2 separate regions of the Homo sapiens genome follow, and region 1 is linked to region 2. The links are contacts of gene promoters, found by promoter capture Hi-C in blood cells and fetal thymus (Javierre and others, 2016). All regions are on one chromosome and are shown on one strand. Each heading gives the region's core, a stretch centred on a gene start or on the middle of the fragment in contact. The rest is flanking DNA. Distances are from core to core; before and after follow the strand shown. Region 1 overlaps WNK3 (WNK lysine deficient protein kinase 3). Region 2 holds the start of MAGED2 (MAGE family member D2).

Region 1 (4,163 bases), core at 836-3,335, 570 kb after region 2:
TTACCTTTCTTCCTGGATGTCGTCTCCTTCCTACATCGTTGACCTCTTTCTTGGCCACAAAACCTTTTCCTCTTACTGCTCTTATTTGGGGGCGCATGCCTCTGCTGCCCTTTGCTTGGTCTGGAGGTGGGGAGAGAAGGGACAGAACTGCCTGCCTGTTCCTTCTTTGTTATCCCAACCAGTTCATTCTTCCATTCAGTAAATATCTCTTTAGCAGTGAATAAGTCAAAACCTCTGTTTTTGTGGAGTTTACATCTAGTAGAAGAAAATGGATACTAAACCTATATATGGTAGTCAGGGAAAGACTTGTATGTGATGGTGACAGTCATAGGCAGAGATCTGTTCAAGGAACCAAAAGGCGGCCAGTAAACAGGAGAGCATTAAGAGATAACATTGAAAGAGACAGAAGATAGATCTGATAGAGTTTTGTAAGCATTCTAGCCTACCACTCATCTTTTTAGTTGGCCAGGGTTCTCTCCTGCTGCCCGTATCAGCCACTCAGGTTTGCAGCATTTTGAAACAATTCCTACATATGTCATGGTCTACTTTTTCCTCTGTCAGTCATATATGCATGTGTCTATGTATATTTTCCTGTTGTGTCTGTAAATTTGGATTGATAAGGAAGGCTAGAACAAATATTTAATTTGCCATCTTGATCCAGTTACTACATATTAAAATTCTTTTCTGTAATTTCAGTGGGACCAATGTAACATTTTCTAAATTGTAATACTGATTTTTTTCTTCTCATGAAACTAATTATTACTAGTTTAAAATGAGACTTCAGAAAGTAAAAACTGATTGCTTACAATTTTATTTTTAATATGTCCTGACCTGCCATAAGTTTGTGTTTGTTTTTTTGTTTTTTTTTTTTTGAAACAAGAGTTTCGTTCTTGTTGCCCAGGCTGGAGTGCAATGGTGCGATCTCGGCTCATTGCAACCTCCGCCTCCGGGTTCTAGCTATTCTCCTGCCTCAGCCTCCCAAGTAGCTGGGATTACAGGCAGGCACCACCACGACAGGCTGATTTTGTATTTTTAGTAGAGACGGGGTTTCACCATGTTGGCCAGTCTGGTCTCAAACTCCTGACCTCAGGTTATCTGCCCACCTCAGCCTCCCAAAATGCTGGCATTACAGGCGTGAGCCACTGCGCCCAGCCCTGCCCTAAGTAGTAATAATGCTTACCCAAGACATCATACTTACTGCCATGTAGGCTATCTTCTTTCAGGCAAATGCTAAATCCCATTCTTTGTGCTTTTATATATTTTTTTAATCTTCTAGATTAGTAGTGACCCTTCTCATGTTTCCCAAAATATTTGTGGTTGTCTGTGCTAACTTTTCATATTAATTATTATAGGGGATTTATCTTTAAAGCACTCATTTAGATACAACAGTTATATCTGGGGCCCTTTTGCGGGGAGTAGAAGGACAAGAAGAGGGGATTGATTTTATAGCCAGCATAGCCTGACGTTAACAAGAATTTTTAGAGCATGATTTTGAAGTAATTTTGATGTCCTTTATAAATTTCCCTATGCTTTCATAAAGTAAGAAACTTGATTTCCTGATACTTCTCTGTAAATCTAAGTGCCTAGATATCTTGTTTTTTTCTGTTTTTATGTGTTTCAAGCATCTTTAACTGAGTCTCTTAAATAATATAGGCATAAATGAAAATTTCCATGATAATAGCATGGAGTTTTAGTAACCTTTTTAGTAAACTGGCACATATGAAGGAAATTTTAATTTGATTTTCAGTTTTCAAAGTTTGTATAATGATGAAAAATATTCTGGGGTAGAAGATTAATAATCTTCTCTTTTATTTACTAAAGTCTAAATAATATTTTTAAAGAAACAAGGCTTTTTATAAATTGAGTACTTTGGGTTCAGTCTGATATGCTACTATTAATGCAACTATATACGTAATACTCTATTTTGGGTTAAAGATTAGTCTATACAAGAAATTCCGTTTTTTTTTTTTTTTAAAAGCTTCACCTTACCTAAATTATTACCACTTTGGTTTTTCTCGGTTGTTTTGTTTTGTTTTGTTTTGTTTTGTTTTGTTTTGTTTTGTTTTGTCTCCATTAGGAGATGTCCTCAGATGCTTCACTTCCAGGGGATCCAGAGGCCTATCCTGCTGCTGTGTCAAGCGGTGGAGCCATTCATCTGCAGACAGGAGGTGGATATTTTGGCCTAAGCTTTACTTGTCCTAGTCTCAAAAATCCTATTAGCAAGAAATCCTGGACTCGCAAATTAAAAAGCTGGGCATACAGGCTACGGCAGTCAACCAGCTTTTTCAAGAGATCAAAAGTCCGTCAAGGTAGTGTGCTTACAGTCAGGGACATAGACTAGGTAACATCACTTTTCATTTACTTATTTTTTTTGTTGTTCATATACAAATCTTGCCACTTTTTCCACATAGCCCATGTATGTGACATGTCCCATTAATGTCATTGCCATTTTATTTTTTCCTTTTGTAACTAATTTGGTTTTCCGGTTATTCATTTCATATAGATACTAAGTCTTGGGATAAATCTTGCAATGTCTGATTTAGACTTAGGGACTTAATACAATGTTGCTTATTACATTAACACCTTTTAATTGTCTAGCAGGAGTTAAGCTTTTTCTACTTTTCTTCATTTTTGGTAATGTAAACAAATTTAGTCTTAACAAACAATTTTCTCTTTTTTACTTACAATTTGGCAAAACTTGCAGTGGAAACAGAAGAGATGAGATCAGCAATTGCTCCTGATCCCATTCCTCTGACACGGGAGTCCACAGCTGATACTAGGGCTTTGAATAGATGTAAAGCGATGAGTGGATCATTTCAGCGGGGTCGGTTCCAGGTTTGTGTCTTTGATTGAATCCTTATCTACAAGGGCATTATAAAATATAACAGCCAGTGGAGATCTTGGTCTGTAGATGATACTTCCATTTTTGTTTTTATTTTTTTTTGAGATGGAGTTTCACTCTTGTTGCCCAGTTGGAGTGCAATGGTGTGATCTTAGCTCACTGCAACCTCCGTCTCCTTGGTTCAAGCGATTTTACTGCCTCAGCCTCCCGAGTAGCTGGGATTACAAGTGCGCGCCACCACACCCGGCTAATTTTTTGTATTTTTAGTAGAAACGGGGTTTCACCATGTTAGCCAGGCTGGTCTTGAACTCCTGACCTCAGGTGATCCGCCTGCCTCGGCCTCCCAAAGTGCTGGGATTACAAGCATGAGCCACCATGCCTGGCCGATGATACTTACTTTAAATGTAGATCATTGTCATATTTAATTTGTTCATCTTGCATGCATCCCCTCACCTTTTGAAGCCATCAGTAAAGATGAATCTAAAGAAATGGAGATTTTCATAGCTGGTAGAGAGCACAGAAATAGGTTTTCTTTTGGCGGGTGGGTGGGTCCTCTTTTATAAATGTAATTTCACGTCCTTTAGAATCTCAGCAACTCTAATTGTGGAATTTTATTTGAGCAATATGATGCCCACTCTCTTTACCCAAGGGGCCTGATTGAAAGAGTGAATTTGGGGGTATAGATTAAATTTTTAAGTTTTGCTAGTATCAATACATATACATCACAGCAGAGCATCTACTTGTCTGTGCTATGCTAACCACTTTTACGTTTTTATATCTCAGGTGATTACAATTCCTCAGCAGCAGTCAGCAAAAATGACATCTTTTGGAATAGAACACATATCAGTGTTCAGTGAGACAAACCATTCTAGTGAAGAAGCCTTTATTAAAACAGCAAAGTCTCAGTTGGTAGAAATAGAACCTGCCACACAAAATCCAAAAACTTCGTTTTCTTATGAGAAGTTACAAGCTCTTCAGGAAACCTGTAAAGAAAATAAAGGAGTTCCCAAACAAGGTGACAACTTCTTATCTTTCAGCGCAGCTTGTGAGACTGATGTATCTTCAGTGACCCCAGAAAAGGAATTTGAAGAAACTTCAGCCACAGGAAGTAGCATGCAGTCTGGATCTGAACTGTTGCTTAAAGAGAGAGAGATATTGACTGCTGGGAAACAGCCTAGCTCTGATAGTGAATTTTCAGCCAGTCTTGCTGGCAGTGGAAAGTCAGTGGCAAAGACTGGTCCAGAGAGTAATCAGTGCTTACCACACCACGAAGAACAAGCTTATGCTCAAACACAGAGTTCACTCTTCTATTCGCCATCTT
Region 2 (4,149 bases), core at 1-2,500:
GCCCCGCCCGCTTTCCCAGCACGAGCCCTTTCTTTGATGTCCACCGTGCACATGCGCATTCAGCAGCTGGCTCTTCTCAGTGCTGGCCCTTCTCAACACGCCCCTTTCTAGCGAAACATAGTGCGCATGCGCAATGGTCGTGGTCTCAGTCTGGCACTCTGCCCCAACACACGCCCCTCTCCAGGTCCGCAGTACCATTCGGTCCCGCCCCCTGCCCAACAAGCCTTCCTCCAAAATTGTCGCAGTGTCTGGTGGACCCGGCCCCTCCCCTACTCACGCCCTACAGAGTCCAGTGTCTCTTGGCCCCGCCCTTCTTCCTAACACGCCCCCCTCCAAACAGGCGCATCTTGGTTCCGCCCCTTCCCTATTACACCCCCTCCTCAAATAAATACTGAGCTAGTGATTCCATCTTGGGCCCGGCCAAACCGGGTCCAGTCCCCTCCCTTCCCAGCCGGATGGATCCGGTACGATCCGGTCCTTAAGGCAGGTTTTCTCCAGATCCCAGAGGGTGGGGCCGACCCCTAGCGGGGCTCTCATCCAAAAGCCGACCCGGCTGCTCACCTCGTCCTCCTACAATTCCCGAGTGCGTCCACTCACTCCAAGCCCCTCCGAAACTCGGAGACTGCCCTCCCCTCTCTAGGCCGGAAGTGGTCCCGCCCCTTTCCGCCTCCCTAGGGGGCCTCCGTCCCAGCCTGTCTGCCCCTCCCCCGCTCCCTGCTCCTCATTCCTTATGCCCCCCTCCGTATTCCCTTAGCCTGGCTCCCTACTCCCTATTCCTACCTCACATTTCCTATTTACTCCAGAATTCCTTCTTCCCATTTCTTACATCCTCCTCCGTGTTACGTTTGCACACCCTGCCCCTCAGTATTCCTTAATCCCTCTCTGCATCCCCGATTCTCTTCTCTGGATCTTCACTCCCCCTCAGTGTTCCCCTCCCTCCTTGTATTCCTCGTCCCCCTCCCAACATTCCTGGTTCCCCGTTTTTCTCCCCTCCTCCCTCCGCTAGTCTCTGCTCCCAGTCTGTACAGCCTACTACTTTCTCAGTCGTCCTCATTGCCTACACCCCACTCCAGGTCACCTCTGCTTCAGCTGCAGTGGTGCAGTAAGAATTGCTCATCTGCCTGGCTATGGGTTCGAGGGGTCTGGAACCACTGTCTGACCTCCATAAAACCCCAATATCAACGCCCCTCACCTTGTCCTCCAGCGAGTTCGGGATGCGTCTGCCTTCTCTAAGTCCCTCTCGAAGTCTCAGCCTCCTGGACTAGAGCTGCAGACAGCCCAACCCAGCCCAGCCCCTTTCCGCAGCCCCCTGCCACCCCCCCTCGCCTTCCTCGGGGGTGGGGCAATGGGGCCCCGCTCAGGGCTGTCTGACGCCAAAGCCCATGTTTATGCCACTGTACCAGGCTCAGTCTGAAGCTCTTCCAACTCAAACCGCCCCCTGAAAGCAAGTCATTCATTGAATTTATTTTTATATCTTCATTTTTTCTTATTACAAAGGTAATATGTTGTTCTTTTGTTGTTGTTGTAAAAATTCAAACAATGCAGTAATATATAACACACCAATGAAAGGCCACTCATCTCCCAGAAATAACCACTATTAACATTTTGCTATCCAGATTTTTTTTCTATTCGTATACTAATTATTCAGGTTCTCTCTCCGACAAATGGTACACTATACATACCTTCTGTTCTGCGACCTGTTTTTTTCCAGTTATATATAAAACATCTTTCCGTTAGTGCACATTTTTCTAAACAGCTGCATGATCTTTTCTTGCATAGATGTCCCATAATTTATTGAACCAGTCCAGTACACATGTACATTTAGATTGCTTGGTGCACTTTTTGTTATTTATGGTATTTTTTGCTAGCTCAAATGCTACAAAAAAGTCTTCCATTTTGATGCAAAATTTGTCAACTTACTCCTAAAAAGTAAATGGATAACATTCCCGCCAGCAATGTCTCTCCTGTACATGTCACATATTACAAATATTTTTCATGTTATTTATGATAATTTTTGCCAAACAAAAATGTTTAATTATTATGTAGTCAAATATATCCATTTTTCCTTCATCACAACTGGATTCTGCTGCTTGCTTAAAGATGCTTTTCACACTCCTATAACAAACCCCGTTTTTTTTTTCAAGCACTTTTGTGGCTTTATTATTTACATTTAGATGTTTGATCATTTCAAAATTTATTTTCTATACGGATTCAGCTTGATTACTCTTCAAAATCATAGTCTCTTACCTCTACATCATGTGCAAACTAATCCATCTTTTCCCTCTCTGCTTTGAAATGGCACCTCTATCACATAATAAATTCACATAACCAATTGGATCTGTTCAAGAGAACAAAATAAGATGTAAAATAATAGGAAATAGACAAATCATCATTAATTACTGAATATATAAATGCAGACCTGGAAAACCCAAGAGCATCAACTAAAAAGTTATTAGAAACCATAATAAAATTCAGCACAACTGTTAGTTGCAGAAATAATATTCAGTGCCTTTCCACATATAAATGTAATTCAAATGGACACAAGTCTTCTGCTTTATGTGGTCACCTTTTACTATGTAAATAACATATAATGAATCCCTGTGTTCCATGGATAATTCAAGATAGACAAACACACAAATTTCTTGCATATTCAAGGCAGGCTTCTGTTTTCCTGTCTTTTCTCTTTCTCTGAATTATTGCTTTCTCCAAGTGTGTGATATCAGTTCACCATGTTCTTGCCTCCTAGATTTTCTCCCTTATCCACACTAGACATAGCCCCTCCTTTTCTTCTACTTCTGGCATCTCAAATTCCCCACCCCTTCCAAATCATGGCAAGTTGGCAAGTTTAGAATGCCAAGATGAGGACTTTGGTGTTGATCCTGAGAGCACCCAGGAGTTACTAAAGAATTCTAGGCAAGGATACAGCATAGGTTTGTGTTTTAGAAAGAACACCTAGCTGCTATATGGAGTGTGGATTAGGTGTTGTCTTGGAAACAGGGAGAGTGCTTATGACTTTTGTAGTCATCTAGGTAAGCAATGATTGTGCTTTGGCCTAGAGTGGTGGCAGATAGTGAGAAGTGATTGAATCGAGGAGATAGTAAAGAAGTAAAAAGTAACTGGACTTGAGTAACTGGATTGTGAAGAGAAGGGCAAGGAGGAGGGGAGTGTCAAAGGGAACTCTTGGCGATCTGATTTGAGAGATTGTGTGAATGGTAACCCCTTTCACTGAGATCAGGAATACTGAAGGAAGAGCGGGTTTGAGGAGCAGGTTAGACAAGAACTGAACATTGCTTTTGAGGCACCTGTGGCATGTCCAGGTGGAAATGTACCACAGGCAGTTGAATATACATATCTGAAGCTCAGAGAAGTGGTCTAGGCTGAGGTTATAGATCTAGGAGTCATCAGTACATAAATAGTTCTTGAATTCCTGAGAAAGGGTAACAGCACCCCGGTGAATGCGTAGTGCTAGAAGAGACATGGGCCCACGGAAGAGCCCTGCAGTCCAACAGCATCTTTGGTATAGGTGGAGGAAAAGAAACTCATGAAAGAGGCTGATAAGGAGTGACCAAAGAGGCAGAGAGAAAAACAGGAGAGGGCCGGGCATGGTGGCTCACACCTGTAATCCCAGCACTTTGGGAGGCTGAGGTGGGCAGATCACCTGAGGTCAGGAGTTCAGGACCAGCCTGGTCAACACGGTGAAACCCCATCTCTACTAAAAATACAAAAATTTAGCTGGGTGTGGTGGACCACACCTGTAGTCTCAGCTACTCGGGAAGCTGAGGCAGGAGAATCGCTTGAACCTGGGAGATAGAGGTTACAGTGAGCCGAGATTGTGCCGCTGCACTCCAGCCTGGGTGATAGAGTGAGACACCATCAAAAAAAACAAACAAACAAACACAAAAAAAAAAACCGGAGAAAGGAGTGTCACAAAAGTAAGGGAAGAGATTGTTTCAAAAGGAGGGAGGAGTCAAGGTCAATAGTGATGAATGGTGCCAAGAATCAAGAAAAGTAAGACCTGAAAAAATGTCTGGGGATTTTGACGATCAAGTGGTGGTCTCTGGTGACCTTGGAAGGAATAGTTTCAGTGCACATGTTTGTGGCATAGCTTGCTAATTGCTTACCCTAGTATTCATCCTCCTCTTCTTCCTT

The links. Contacts are between HindIII fragments. The CHiCAGO score rates a contact against its expected background, and 5 or more counts as called.
Region 1: a fragment that was not itself captured here is called in contact with the fragment with the promoter of MAGED2 in region 2 in 1 of 17 cell types (total B cells); the score reaches 5.6 in total B cells.

What each region holds. Positions count from the first base shown.
Region 1 is chrX:54,237,014-54,241,176 of GRCh38, reverse strand. It overlaps WNK3 (WNK lysine deficient protein kinase 3), which reads left to right. Exons shown (of 24, transcript NM_020922.5): 18 at 2,078-2,309; 19 at 2,705-2,835; 20 at 3,626-4,163. Among named protein-coding and RNA genes, the nearest start is that of FAM120C, 56 kb to the right of the region's middle. The HindIII fragment of the contact is 209 bases long and covers 1,981-2,189 here.
Region 2 is chrX:54,804,846-54,808,994 of GRCh38, reverse strand. MAGED2 (MAGE family member D2) reads right to left here and starts at 1,250. Exons shown (of 13, transcript NM_177433.3): 1 at 1,193-1,250. The HindIII fragment of the contact is 6,434 bases long and covers 1-4,149 here.